Linked DNA regions of Homo sapiens: region 2 is linked to region 1. Evidence: promoter capture Hi-C in 16 types of primary human blood cells and fetal thymus (Javierre and others, 2016). All regions are on one chromosome and are shown on one strand. The core of a region is centred on a gene start or on the middle of the fragment in contact, and the rest is flanking DNA. Distances in the headings are between cores, read along the strand shown. Region 1 holds the start of CCDC85C (coiled-coil domain containing 85C). Region 2 overlaps GSKIP (GSK3B interacting protein).

What was found. The method cuts DNA at HindIII sites, captures the fragments that hold promoters and counts their contacts. A CHiCAGO score of 5 or more calls a contact.
Region 2: a fragment that was not itself captured here is called in contact with the fragment with the promoter of CCDC85C in region 1 in 1 of 17 cell types (naive CD8 T cells); the score reaches 6.8 in naive CD8 T cells.

What each region holds. Positions count from the first base shown.
Region 1 is chr14:99,598,152-99,605,456 of GRCh38, reverse strand. CCDC85C (coiled-coil domain containing 85C) reads left to right here and starts at 1,250. Exons shown (of 6, transcript NM_001144995.2): 1 at 1,250-2,290. The coding sequence starts at 1,498. It also overlaps a transcript of HHIPL1 not described here. RefSeq lists silencers at 46-195, 376-445, 506-645, 786-1,315, 7,039-7,239 and enhancers at 1,576-1,695, 2,402-3,055, 6,587-7,305. The HindIII fragment of the contact is 18,022 bases long and covers 1-7,305 here.
Region 2 is chr14:96,375,427-96,382,352 of GRCh38, reverse strand. GSKIP (GSK3B interacting protein) reads right to left here. Exons shown (of 4, transcript NM_016472.5): 2 at 2,565-2,665; 3 at 1-106. The coding sequence starts at 105. Among named protein-coding and RNA genes, the nearest start is that of AK7, 13 kb to the left of the region's middle. The HindIII fragment of the contact is 3,518 bases long and covers 3,705-6,926 here.

The sequences.
Region 1 (7,305 bases), core at 1-2,500:
CGTGGGCCGCTCACTGTCGCGTGCGCGGATTTGATCTCGTTGCAGGTTCCGGGGGAGGGACCCCCCCCCGCCCCGCCCCGCCCCGCCTGCTGGCGGTAGACGCGCCGTAAATGCGCTTTGGGGACCGGAGGATAACGAGACAGACTTACAGGCAGTGGGAAGCCCGGGGGTCCCGCGAGGCCGCCGGTGGGGAGTTCTGTGGCCGGCTCGGCGCCCCCGGACCCCGGCGTTCAGGCCCCAGTGGGAGACCTTCCCACCCTTCCCAGTGGTTTCCACCCCGCGAATTGCAGATTATCTCCCGAATCCCAGGGATTTAGCGGTCGAGTGAGCGGAGGTGGAGCGGGGCTCCGAGCGCCGCTCCGGGCAGGGGGCAGGTTCCCGGAGCTCTCGCCCCATCGGGGCAGAGAGTACTGACCGCGCTGCGGGACGCGGCTGGCAAGGCCCTGGCCCTGCAGGGGCGCGGACGCCAGCGTTTAGCTCAGCCCTGGGCTAGGAGTGGAGACGCAGCCCCGCCGCGTGCTCCGGCAGGGGACCCGGGTGGGGACGGGGGCGGAGGAGCCTGGGGGCAGGGAAGGGGACAAAGAGCCGCCCTGCTGCGGGGAAGAGCGACCCCCATGTCACAGTCCTATTGTTCGCTGTGTCTCCGACTGCCCTGAACTCTGGTGCCCCCGGGAGGGAGAAGGGGCGCCGTCGCCCGGATCGTGGGTATTTGTTTATCTGGGGAGAGGGAAGAGGACCGGGGACGCGGGCCGGGGAGGGGGCTCGACTGCTATTTTCGCGCGTCGCCTTTAAGGGAAGCCCGGCCCTACCTTTCCCACCGTCCCCCTCCCCGCAGCCGTACCTGCATTTTAAAAGCGCCCTGTAGCCCTGGGATTGGCTAAGGCCGCGTCCTCCGGGCGCAGAAACTTGAACCGCCGGGAGCCGGCCGCGGGCGGGGGTCGGAAACCCCGCGGATGGACCGTACCACCGCCGCAGCTTCCCCCGCGCGCGCCCCGCCCCTCCCGCACACCCCCGGAGCGGCCCAATCGCCCGGCCGGGAGGGCGGGACCGCGGCCGGAACGCGCCTCTGAGAGGGCACTGGACGGGCGGGCGCACCGCGCAGGGGGACGGCGGGGGCCGCGCCTCTGCTCCCCAGTCGCCCTCGGGGGCGGGGCCGGGCCTCGGAGACCCGCCCACTCTCCGCCCGGGGTGGGCGGGGCGGCGGGGGCTCCGGGAGCTGGGCCGGGGGCGGGCCTCCGCCTGCTTCTCCAGAACCCTGAGAGCGCCCGGCACCGCGGCCGCCGACGCAGCAGCCGCCTCCGCTCGTCAACCCCGAGGCGCGCGGGCTCCCGGGCGGCCCCGGCGGGCGCGGCGAGAGGACGCGCCAGGCGGCGCGGGGCGGGCCGCACGCGCCCCCGGCCGCCCCCCGCCCGCGCGCGGACCGGCCCAGCGGAGCCCCGGCGCGGGGAAGCGCCGGCCGGGCGAGGGCGAGGGCGATGCCGCGGTGACGGCCCCGCCATGGCTAAGCCCGCGGCGACGGCGGCGGCGGCGTCGGAGGAGCTGAGCCAGGTGCCGGACGAGGAGCTGCTGCGCTGGAGCAAGGAGGAGCTGGCGCGGCGGCTGCGGCGCGCCGAGGGCGAGAAGGTGGGCCTCATGCTGGAGCACGGCGGCCTGATGCGCGACGTGAACCGGCGGCTGCAGCAGCACCTGCTGGAGATCCGCGGCCTCAAGGACGTGAACCAGCGGCTGCAGGACGACAACCAGGAGCTGCGCGAGCTCTGCTGCTTCCTCGACGACGACCGGCAGAAGGGGCGCAAGCTGGCGCGCGAGTGGCAGCGCTTCGGGCGCCACGCGGCCGGCGCCGTGTGGCACGAGGTGGCCCGCTCGCAGCAGAAGCTGCGCGAGCTCGAGGCGCGCCAGGAGGCCCTGCTGCGCGAGAACCTGGAGCTCAAGGAGCTGGTGCTGCTGCTGGACGAGGAGCGCGCGGCACTGGCGGCGACGGGGGCCGCAAGCGGTGGCGGCGGCGGCGGGGGCGGCGCCGGCTCCCGCAGCTCCATCGACAGCCAGGCCAGCCTGAGCGGGCCGCTGTCGGGTGGCGCGCCCGGCGCGGGGGCCCGCGACGTGGGCGACGGCAGCAGTACGTCCAGCGCGGGCAGCGGCGGCAGCCCCGACCACCACCACCACGTCCCACCCCCGCTGCTGCCCCCCGGGCCGCACAAGGCCCCCGACGGCAAGGCAGGAGCCACACGTCGGTCCCTGGACGACTTGTCGGCGCCGCCGCACCACCGCAGCATCCCCAACGGCCTGCACGGTAAGGACTACACGGGCCGGGCAGCGCGGGTCTCCCTGGCTGCAGCCCTTTTCCCAGGCTGCGGCGAGAGGAGGTGGTCCCTGGCTGTCCCACTCATGCGGCCGCCACTCCAGACTCCTCCAGCTGTCATGGATCCTGGGCCAGGGGATCCCGCACTCACCCAAAGTGGGGCTTTGGGCGGTGGTGGGCCGGTTCAGTGGTGGAGCGTCTTTTTGTCCAGCTCAGAACCTGCTGCCGGTCCGGTCCCAGAAAAGTTTCTAGCGGGTGTAGTTGCCAAAATTAGGGTCTGTCACTGCTGGGCTGGCGGTGGGCGCCTCATCCCAGCCTTGGAAATCCTTGCCTAGTAGCGGGAAGTTCTAAACAGCAAAGGATACAAGGCCCCTTGAGCGCAAGTGAATTTCCCCTCTTGCAGCAACAGGTGTCCTCCAAACCAAGCAGCGTCCACGTGTGTGCGGTGGCTGGAGTTCTGCAGTGGGGTGTGGGGATTGGGAAGGTGCACAGGCAGCCGCTTGAGACCCAGAGGCAGTTGGGGAGAGGCCTGGGGCTCAGAGCCTTTCTTGTTTGCCATAAATTCCGCCCTTCTAGTCCTGGGACCTTTCTCAGCCGAGACTCTAAGACTTTCCCGAGGGAGATGTATTTGGAACGGATTCTAGCTTTTCTCCTCTGTGTGCCTCAGTTTCTTTGTCTGTGAAATGGAGATGATGACCTCTGCCTCGTGGGTTTGAGGTGGAGATAAACCTTCTGAAGGGATTTATAAACTGTTGATCGCCTTACAGGAAGTGCCGTGGTCATCCGTGACCAGGGTGTGGGTGGGAGGAACTTTGGCCTCTGTCAGCTTCTGTCTTCTACGCCCATGTTACTGCTGCGCCCAGTGCAGAGGGTGGCCCCAGCTTGGGGCTGTGGGAGCTTGCAGCCTGCTCCCTCTCCCAGCCCCCTGCTCAGCCCTTCTGCTCCCTGCCAGCTTTCTCCTCCTCGCTGGTGGATCCGGGGCCTCCCTGTTCTTCCACGTTTTTTGGTAGCTTGGCTTCCAGTTCTGCTGGTAGTTGCAACTGCCTGAACTTTTTGCCTGAAGGTGGAGAATGAACAGCTCTTTCTGGTTCCCTTTAAAGCCTTTCCTAATTCAGAGAAAGTGTGTCTAAGCCTGCAATAACTGCCCTCCCCAGAACCCCTCAGCCTGAGCTGGGGAGGGACGTTTTCTCCTTAGTTTGGTGGCCAAGTGGCCTCTGCAGACGTGTTGGGGTGGGGGCTGGGGTGGGAGACATACCCATGGAGGTGGGGCAGGGGCAGTGCAGCATGTTTTTCCTTTATTTACCATCCTGAGCCTGTGGGTTCAAGGCAGGACTGGGTTTAGAGGGATATTTTGTTACTGATTAGCAATCTATGGCTACAACTCAGGTTTCTCTTTGTAACACTGTATCCACCCCCACCTCCCACCACAGGCTGCTTCAGGGCAGTGGGAGTAGCGCAAAGTTAGGTGGTTTAATTTGCTGGGGCTGTTCAGAGCACCTCAGCCCCTTTGATTTTGCCGTCCTGGGGGCTTTTGAGGGGTCAGTTATCTGGGCCTCGGTTTCCCTAAGTGCAGTCCAAAGAGCAGATTGCTGCAGTCTCGTGGCTGGAAAGTGAAATGTTTCTGGTTTTCAGCTGCGTCATCAATGACACTTGGCAAGAGTGCCTCTCTGCAGGACACTGGAGGGCTGGAGTGTTTAGAGCATACTTGCAGGAAAGGCTCTGTCGAGTTTTGGGCAAGGAGATGCGGCCCCAGTCTGGCTCAGCATGTCAGCTGCGACAGTGAATAATACAGGAGTGGAGGACTAGGCTACACTGAGTTTTCCACCCCACTGGGGGTCAGTGGGAGGTTGAAGTATAGGGTTTCCCACAGAACCCATCCTCCCCCAAGCCCACTTAGCACAGGACTGCTGCAAATGTTGTGGCAGCAAACCTTGCTTTGGGGTGAAATGAAAATTCAGCATTATTATTACAAATTTCGGTTACAGATGGAATTATTATTATTTAGTTTTGTCTCTTAAAGCCATGTGTGGCCTTGGGATGTGGTCCCACTAATGTAAATGGAAGGCTTGGAAACCAGGAAAGGCCCTTCTCTTAGAAACTGAGCTGTTCTTTCTTTCTTTTTTCCCTTTTTTCGAGACAGGGTGTCACTCTGTCACCCAGGCTAGAGTGCAATGGAACACTCATGGCTCACTACAGCCTCAACCTCCCAGGCTTAAGTGATCCTCCCAGCTCAGCCTCCCAAGTAGCTGTGATTAGAGCCATGAGCCACCTCACCTGGTGAAACTGGGCTTTTCTATTCTGGGACTTGTAACTTTAAATTGAGCAAAGATTGGGCCTGAGCTGAGGGAGATAATGAGTCTCTGTCTGGGTGGTGTCTAAAGTGGGGTCAGACACCAGGCTTGCGCCTTATGTGTTTGGTCTTTGCTTCTTCTCACAGGAACCCTGGGGAAGCAGTATTATCCCCATTTGACAGACAAGCAAGTGGAGGCTTAGAGGGGTTCCTAGCCTTGTCTGGGAAGGTGGCTGACATTGGAAGTACCTGTCCTGGGTGGGTTTGCTGCCATGATCATCTCGTGTTCAGGCCTTGGGTCTGAATCTGTTGTGCCCTTGGTCTGTTGTCATGTTTGCTGTTACTGTTAATCAGGGGACACTGGTGACTCCCTATTCTTGATTCCTGACCCAGGTTTGCCCTCTTTCTCCCATGCTGGGAAGTGTCACTTCCTTATCAGTGACCATTGAGCAGATGGCTGATAACCCCGTTACCCAGAGGCTCAGGGTGACTTGAGTTTGAATCTCAGCTCCTCCATGTATACTGGGCAAGTTATTAACTGGCCAAGCCTCTCTGTGCTCCTCTTCTGTAAGATGGACAGAACCCAGAGTGCCCCATTATTCACACAAGGTTGAGTGAGGTCAGGATCTACACACAGTAGGTTTCTCCTGTTGTTAGGGTCCTTGGGGCTCTCCCAACAGACCTCAGTTTCCTCTTCAAAAGTGCTTGCTGCTTAGACAGCTCACCTGAATGTTTGCATCTGAGCCTCTTGTGTGGCAGCACTTGCTGATGAGCTAGTGAGGACAGTGGCCCTGCTGTCCTTTCTGGGGAGCTGGTGGCAGTTGCAGCCCTGCTGGGTGCCCTGGGCAGACTCTAGTGGCTGAGGTGGGAGGTGGCCCATCTGTATGCAAGGCAGCCCTGGCTGAGGCTGGCCTGGTGGGCCTGTGTATTGTGTATGTACATGCAAATAGGCTTTTCTCCTTGGCTGCTTATTTATTTATTTATTATTTATTTAGAGACAGGGTCTCTCTGGTCACCCAGGCTAGAGTGCAATGGCACCATCATGGCTCGCGGCAACCTCAACCTCCTGGGCTCAAGTAATCCTCTTGCCTCGGCCTCCTGGGATGTGTGCTACCATGCCCAGATAATTTTTGAATTTTTTGTAGAGACTGGATCTCACTATGTTGCCCAGGCTGGTCTCGAACACCTGGGTTCAAGCAGTCCTCCTGCCTTGGCCTCCCAAAGTGTTGGGATTACAGACGTGAGCCACTGCACCTGGCCTTGGCTGCCTTTGGTAGAGGTCTGGTCTGGGCTGACTGGACTTGGGACTGGGCTGTGCGTTGCTCTAGTCCAGTGTGGCACACTGAGACAGGTAAACCCCAACACCAGAAAGTCAGGTTCTCCTTCATGAACTGATAGGATTTTCAAACAAAAGAATTTTCAGTTCTTTTTCCAGCTGCCCCTCCGCCTGTCTCCTGTGCCCCACGACAGGCACCATGCCCCCCTCCTGCCCATTGCCAGGCATTTCCTTCCCTCCCCTGATAACCTGCTCCTCCACGGTCCACTCCCCTTTAGCCAACCTGGAGGAACTAGGATTCTAGCAAGCCTGTGCATGAGCCCCATTTACTTTTTAAAGTTCGGATTAAAATTTTGAGCTTCTCAAAATGAGACAGGTTTGTTCTCCTGCTTGTGTTTTTGTTGGTTTAAGAGGGAGGATGGAACGGGGTGGTCTGGGCCTTTAGAAAAAGACAGAGCACGCTAACTCTGAATAGGTCTTTTCTGTGCAGCAGCTCGGCTAATAAGGCTGCTTTTCCTAAACCCAGCCAAGCTCAGGAACAAAGGTCAGTGAAGACAATGGGGTGGGTTAGATAAGCCTTTCCCCCTCCTTCCCCAGCCTGTCCCAAGGGATCCATCAATGGCCTTGGGATGCTGGGCCTCAGAAAGGAGGGCTGGCCTTGAGAGGCTCCCAGGCAGGTGACCCAGGGGTGGGTAAACTGTGCCCAGTGCTTCACAGTTTGCCACAAACAGCATCCCAGTCCCAATTCCATTCTGTTCAGAGCTTCCAAATGGTCCCAGGAGGGAGACCTTAGCATCTCCATATCTTAGATGGGGAAATCAGGGCTTGGAGTGGTGGTGCGGTGACTTGCTCTAGGTCCTGTGGGGCTGATTGGGGGGCCTGGGATGCGTCTTGGGTCTCCTGTGTCAGAATTCTGAGCCCATGGCCCTGTGCCTGCTGCCCAGAGAGTTCCAGGGGAGCGGTGACCTCTGCCACAGAGACAGGGCACCTCCTCCCAGGATGCCAGGCCCGGGGCCTCATTCCTGTCTCCCTGTGTCCTGGCATGGAGGAGTGGGGGAAGGCGGTGCAGGGTGGGCCACCTTCCCTACGATGGCTGTGGCTCCCCATCTCTTGGTTTCTCCTTCCCTCACTTCTCTGCACGAGGCTGGCTTGCCACCGCAGCAGTCGCCCCACCAGACCTCTTGCTCAGGCCTGGCCTCTGAGTTCCCAGGACCAGCACGTGATACAGAAGGAAATCAGTGGTTGCTCCTAATCTGTTTTCCGCCGGTGGGGATTTTCCAATCCATGCTTGTTGCCTTCATTTGCGCAGAGAATTGGAAGTCTGTTAAGCAAGTTCCTGAGCCTCCATGGGCCTCTGTTTTCTCTTTTGCCAAGTGGGAAAATGTTACTAACCTTTGGGTTGAGGGAGGAGGGTGTGTAGTGAGTGATACGTGTAGCCTC
Region 2 (6,926 bases), core at 4,214-6,713, 3.2 Mb after region 1:
GAGCCTCATGTCTTTCATGTCAGTTCCTTCAAAACCGTTCAGCTCTGAACCTTCTTCAAATCCTGACATACTGCTTAGCTCCATGGGATTACAGTCTGTTTCCATTCTGTAAAAAAAAAAAAAAGCAGTTATAAAATTTGTTTATAGAAAGACATTCAAACTACTACATTTGATTAAAATTAGCTATGCCTTACAATTGCTCCTTAGTACAAAACACTAGCTAACAATTGTTAGGAAAAATACTATCTAAAAACATTTCTAGTGGTTTTTCACAGCAAAATCACCGACACCCATAGATCTTCAAAAAAAAGAATCTCCCTTCTCCACTTACCCCCAACAGGTCAATTTCCATATTGATAAGCATTTAGAATATTGTGTTTTTTAGCTATTTTGAATAATGCCTCAGTAACAATCCTAGTACATATTTTTAAATGTATAATTATTTCTCTAGGACAGATATTTAGGACTGAAATTGCTGAGTCAAAGGACATACTTATTTTAACTTTTAATAGATACTGTCAATTTACCCTTCAAAAAAACAAAAAAAGAGAGTATGACTTATACTTTACCAATAGAATATGAGGGACTGTACTCTTTTTCACCTCTTTCCAATTCTTTTAAATTTTTGCCAATTTAAGAGGCAAAGAATGATAGCTCATTGTTGTAATATGTATTTCCTTGAGTAAACATCTGTTTGGATGTTTAAAGGATAGTTTTAGTTCTAAGATCATACAGTTGCAATAAGCAGAAATGGAAATAAATCTAAATTGCATGAAATCAGAGTGCAAGTCTTTACCTACCACAGTAGGTAAGTCTCAGTAGCTCCTTTTATGACTTCTGGATTGGGGTTCTGCTCTAGGCCTTCCCCATACCATGATTACATTTTAAAAATCCCCTAAATTCTCGTTGTATCTGAATTTAACTCATCCATCTGGAATTTATTTTGCATAACTTTATTTTCCAAATGGATAGCCAACTGTACCAATACCATTTACTGAATAACTCATCTTTTCACCATTAATTTGAACTGACCCAAATGTTATATTTTGAAAAATATTATTTCTAATTTCTCACGCTAACTTGATCAAATATTACTGCCAGGCTGCTATGTGGTTTTAGCTTTTCTTCTGTAACTGGGGTTAAAAAAGATCTTCCTGGCTATATGTATTGTTAAAATTTGAAATGTATGAATGAGAAAAGTTAATGTGAAAGTGCTTTGGAATGTACAAAAGGCTTTACAGAACAAGTTATGGTGAGCTATTGTGCTTTCTTTTTGCTTGGCAGGTTTTAAAAGTAAAGTTTCACTTCTCTGATATGGATTAAGCATCTGCTGTCGTGAATGAAGCATAACTCTTCACTCACTCACATATTCAATCAACATTCATTTCCTATCTACTTGGGCACTGTGGTCAAGGTCTAGTCCCACCCCCTCACCACACTGGAGTTAGATTAGACTGGTAAGAAACTCATTGTATTTTAAGAGACAAGGTCTCACCATGTTGCCCAGGCTGGCGTGCAGTGGTTATTCACAGGTGTGATCACTGTGCACTATAGCCTAGAACTCCTGAGCTCAAGCCATCCTACTACCTCAGCCGCCTGAGTAGTTGAGACTACAGGCTCAAGCCACCACACCTGGCTCTTAAATGCATTTTTAGAAGGAGTCTCAATTTTTTTCTGACAATATGGACACCGATCTGGTACACTGCACAGTCCATTGCTATTTCCAAGTTATGCCCTATTTGTGTAATATTCAAAATCCTTCAAGATAGTGACATTCAAAATCCTTTAAGCTAGTCATTAGAATTACCTGTAAGAGCTTATAAAATTACAGATACATTTTCCTCACTGCAGAAAAACAAAATCAAAATCTCTGGAAGACGAGTTATTTTTTTCAGAGCTCCTGAGTGATTTTGCTGTGCAGCCACTGCTCTAAATTATCAGCAAAAATCTTAAGAAGCTGGAGTTCCTACAGCTGAATGTCATTTGCACATTACAAAAGTCAGAACTACTTGCTGAATGCAATTTATAATAACATATGTAAAGCTATTTCAAAAACTTACATAGCAAATGTATAATGTATTCCTCCAATCCTATTTCAATTAATAATGTTTTAAAGACTCTTTATCTCGTCTCTCACAGCACTTTACAGAATTAGTCACTCGCTACAAACAACAGAAGTTAATTATAAAATTACCAATTATTGCTGGAGCAATCTGTTGGGTAACTGAAAGCTCAAATTGACTTATTATATAGGAAAAAAAATTTGGCTTTCCAAATTTTACCTTATTCCAAAAATAATCAGTATACTGCTCAAGATTATATTTGGTCTTATACATACAAAATGAGCCCTTTCTTTTTTACATAGTTTTGAAGATTTAGAAATGACTACTATAAATCTCTTGACATCATGAATATCAAACATCTTAATTTTGCTTAAGTTATCAAGTACTTCAATTGGAGATGTCAGAAATAATGATCATTACATAAAAAGATGTTTATATGAGAAAGTTTTACATTTATAAAGCTTTTTTTTAAGCAAGAGTGTAATTCATTGCAATTAGGACCTTGATGATGCAGAAAGATCAAGAATCCAGTACCTGAAGGGAAGGAATCCTCACAGGTCAGTGAAGTAGGTCACCAAACAGTTGTGATAATCAGCACCGAGCTGCAAAAAAGAGGAAGACACCTTTCCTAAGACTGAACTTTTAAGACACTTTCCCTGAAATGTCTTTGAATAACATACAATTTAGAACTTTTGATGATACATATAAATTAAAGTAATGGAGCATTACATAAATAACATTTTTAGCTATTATTTTAAGGTATGATTACAACTTGTTTTTTGTTGGTTGAAGCAGGTTCTTGATTATTTACCAATATCCTTTTCCCTGCCTATGACCACCCATATTTTCCAAGGGCAACCATAATGCTCCCTTCCCGTACTAAGTAAAGTAACCAAGCAATTTGGCTGAGATTGACTCCAATCCCCAGATACAGACTCTTCAAACTAATTAATACATGAAATTCTTCCTGGTCACTTTACTTTTTTGAGACAGAGTCTCGCTCTGTTGCCCAGGCTGGAGTGCAGTGACATGATCTCGGCTCACTGCAACCTCTGCCTCCCGGCTTCAAGTGATTCTCCCGCCTCAGCCTCCCGAGTAGCTGGGATTACAGACCCGGCTAATTTTTGTATTTTTAGTCAAGACAAGGTTTCACCATGTTGGCCAGGCTTGTCTTGAACTCCCGACCTCAAGCAATCCACCCGCCTCAGCCTCCCAAAGTGCTGGGATTACAGGCATGAACCACTGCGCCCGGACTTCTTGGTCACTTTAATCAGATTAGTTCAGTCACAGCACACAGCTCAAGCTGTTCCAAGTAGCCATGTTGAGATGGGGCCACTAGCCCAAGCATGATGCTGACAACAGAAAAAAACAGAGCCAAGAGATTCACAGAGAAATGTGGCCAGAGCCCATGCTGGTTTCCCAGGATTTGCACTTTTCAGTTATCGGAGCCAACAAATTCCTATTATCTTACGGGCAACAGAAAGCATTCTATTGGATTTAGGAGTCTACCCATAATGAAAGGCAGTGATTGATTTAGCTCTATAACAGCCCTATGAAGGTAAAAAGGTTTAGAAAATGGAGCTCGGGTGATCATGATGAATATTTTTGTGCCTGCCATGTAGAAAGTGCTTAATAAAAGCTTTATAGATAAATATCCAAAATCTTTGGATATCAATTAGTGTCCTATTGCTACTATAATAAATTACCAAATTAGTGGCTTCAAATAGCACACACTTATTCTCTTACAGTTCTGGAGATGAGAAGTCTAAAAGCAAGATGTCAGCAGGTCTGTATTCCTTCTAGAGGCTTCAGGAAGGAATCTGTTTCCTTACCTTTTCTCACTTCTAGAGGCCATCTGAATTCCTTAGCTTATGGTACCTTCCTCAATCTTTAACATAATAAAAACATTCAAATGACTTCTTTTTCTGCTCTTCCTTTTTTTTTGGAGAGTTATTTATTTATGAGGCAGGATCTTGCTGTCACCTAGGCCATAGTGCAGTGGCACAATCTCAGGCTCAAATGATCCTCCCACCTCAACCTCCCAAGTAGTTGGGACTGCAGGTGGGTGCCATCAGGTCCGGGTGATTCTATTTTTTGGAGAGACAGGGTCTTCCTATGTTTACCCAGGCTAGTCTTGAACTCCTGGGATCCAGCAATCCTCCTGCCTTGGTCTCCCACAATGCTGGGATTACAGGTGTGAGCCACTGCGCTTGGCCATAATTTATTTTCAGTGAACACATTTGATGGGCAACATAAGGTGCTAAGCAGTTTACATGCTTCTCTTAAAAGGAAGCCTAGAGTACTTGCCAAGCCCATTGCCTTCTCTGGAAAGGTTTCTGAATCATAGGTTTCATGCTTTGTATTTTAATTCCAGCATCATCATAGCAACATGTACTGGGGATGGGTATTCCAATTAAAGGCACCATCTCAAGGTTGGCAAGGGGTTTATTTATGTCCCAAGTCAAGAGCTTTGTCCAACTACTTCCGGATGGTGGTCTAGCTAATCAGATGCTCTCTCAAGGAGTTTGAAAAGAGCCAAAAACCATGAAGTCAGTTAGCTGGTGATGACAGGAGTTACAGAGGCAGAGCAGTGAGCAGCTAGGTTGCTATGTTGACCGACACTTGAGAAGCAGCTTCCACACTTTGGATTATGTACCCCAGAAGGTAAAAATATTTTGAGCAGACACCTTATTATAAGCACTTATATAAATATTCTACCACAATTAAAATATTTAAGACATATAAATATACATTTAAACAGAAGGTAAAGATGGAATATAGATATATTTTCTGCTCAATGGATTATCTGTGTACCTGACTAGAAGCCTGTACCATTGAGGATGAGAAAATACACGCCCATTTCAGCGAAGGAACAACCACTAGAATTACTATCAACACTTTAGAACTGCCATCAGGTTACCAGAATGGTTGACTCATCAATGTGAATCCTGTAAAAATCTTTGCTTTCCCTTTTTGTACACAAAACAATTTATCATCATATAAGAAATTCTAAATGAATGGAACTTTCTGTGATGACGGAAATGTTCTTTATTGTTGCCCTCCAATACAGCAGCTAATAGCCATCTGAAGTTTGGCTACTGTGATGGAGAAATTGAATTAAAAATTTATTTAATTTTGGTTCATTTAAATTTAAATAGCTAGTGGCCACTGTATCAGATGGCACAGGTCTAGACCTCTGTGAAAACTTGCAGATAATATAATAAGCAGAGTTTATACTAAGGTTGAAAAATCTCAGCAGATGTAAAGGCACTGAATCAAACTTTATATATGAGTAGCAAAATTTGGAACTTGAGATATAATTGAATCTTAATTACTGTATGTAAAGGAATCAATCATCATTGTTTCAAATAGTAAAAACTAATGAATCATTATCCTATGTTTTATAATCTTGTCTACTTGGATTCTAAGTTTATTAATCAAATATCATAATCCACTCGGTACCTACATAGCCGACTTTTTTTTAAGCACTAGAATACTAATAAAAGATATCTACTGGTAGCTTGCAGTCTACTTTGGGAAAGAAAACAGGCACATGAAATATTTGCACAAATATTAATGCCATACACACACATCATAATTATTCTCCCCAAATGTACTTAATTGTGAGTGGCAGATAATTACAGAAAACAATGATATGTCTTCGTCCTACTACAAACTCTTATCACTAAACTTGTATGAACCTGAGTTGGGCACATAATCTCATTGGTCTTACGGAGGTCTCATCTACAAAATAAGGTAAATAGGCAGAAAATTCTTTACTGTTCTAAGAGCTTTGACATTCTATAATCTATGACGTAATGGTTAGTTATGATGGGGCTTGACTAAGGGTACAGGTCAGTCAAAATTGGTTTGGAATGAGCATGAATAAAGAGTTATAAATAAGCAAAAAGGTCTTGAGAGTTGTGAAAAATTCTGTGTAGGGAACAAAGCATAAGCAAAGGTCAGCACAGGGTGTGGCAGGAACTAGTCGGGCTAAAATACAAGGATATGCAGGGATGGCCCAATCTGACAGCATGCTGACACCTAGAGAGAGGAATTTGATTTTGATATAATAGGCTGTTTTAAGGTCTTCGGAATGGAAATACAAATATCTTTTTATTTAATATGGGTTTCTTACTGGCAGTATGTAGTGTGGTCCTGCTTTTTCATCCATCTGGCAACCTCTTTTAATTGGGGTGTGCTATTAGTATGAATACTTGTCCCCTCCAAAACTCATGTTGAAATTCAATTTCCAATGCAACGTGGCAGCACCAAAAAGTGAAGCCTTAAGAGGTGACTGGGTCATGAGTGCTCTACCCAAAGAGTGGATTAATCCATTTATGGATTAATAGTTTAATGGGTTATCATGCAAGTGGAACTGGTGGCTCTGTAAGAAGAGGGGGAAAGATGTGAGCCAGCACATTCAGCCCCCTCACCATGTGATACCCTGTGCCACCTCAGGACTCTGCAGAGTCCCCACCGCCAAGAAGGCCCTCTCCAAATGTGACCCCTCTACCTTGGACTTCTCAGCCTCCATTACTATAAGAAATAAATTTCAAGCCGGGCGTGGTGGCTCACGCCTGTTATCCCAGCACTTTGGGAGAATGAGGTGGGTGGATCACGAGGTCAGGAGTTCGAGACCAGCCTGGCCAATATGGTGAAACCCCATCTCTACTATAAATACAAAAATTAGCCAGGCGTGGTGGTGCATGCCTGTAGTCCCAGCTACTCGGGAGGCTGAGGCAGGAGAATCGCTTGAACCTGGGAGGCGGAGGTTGCAGTGAGCCGAGATTGCGCCACTGTACTCTAGCCGGGGCAACAGAGTGAGACGCTGTCTCAAAAAAAAAAAAAAAGAGAGAAAAA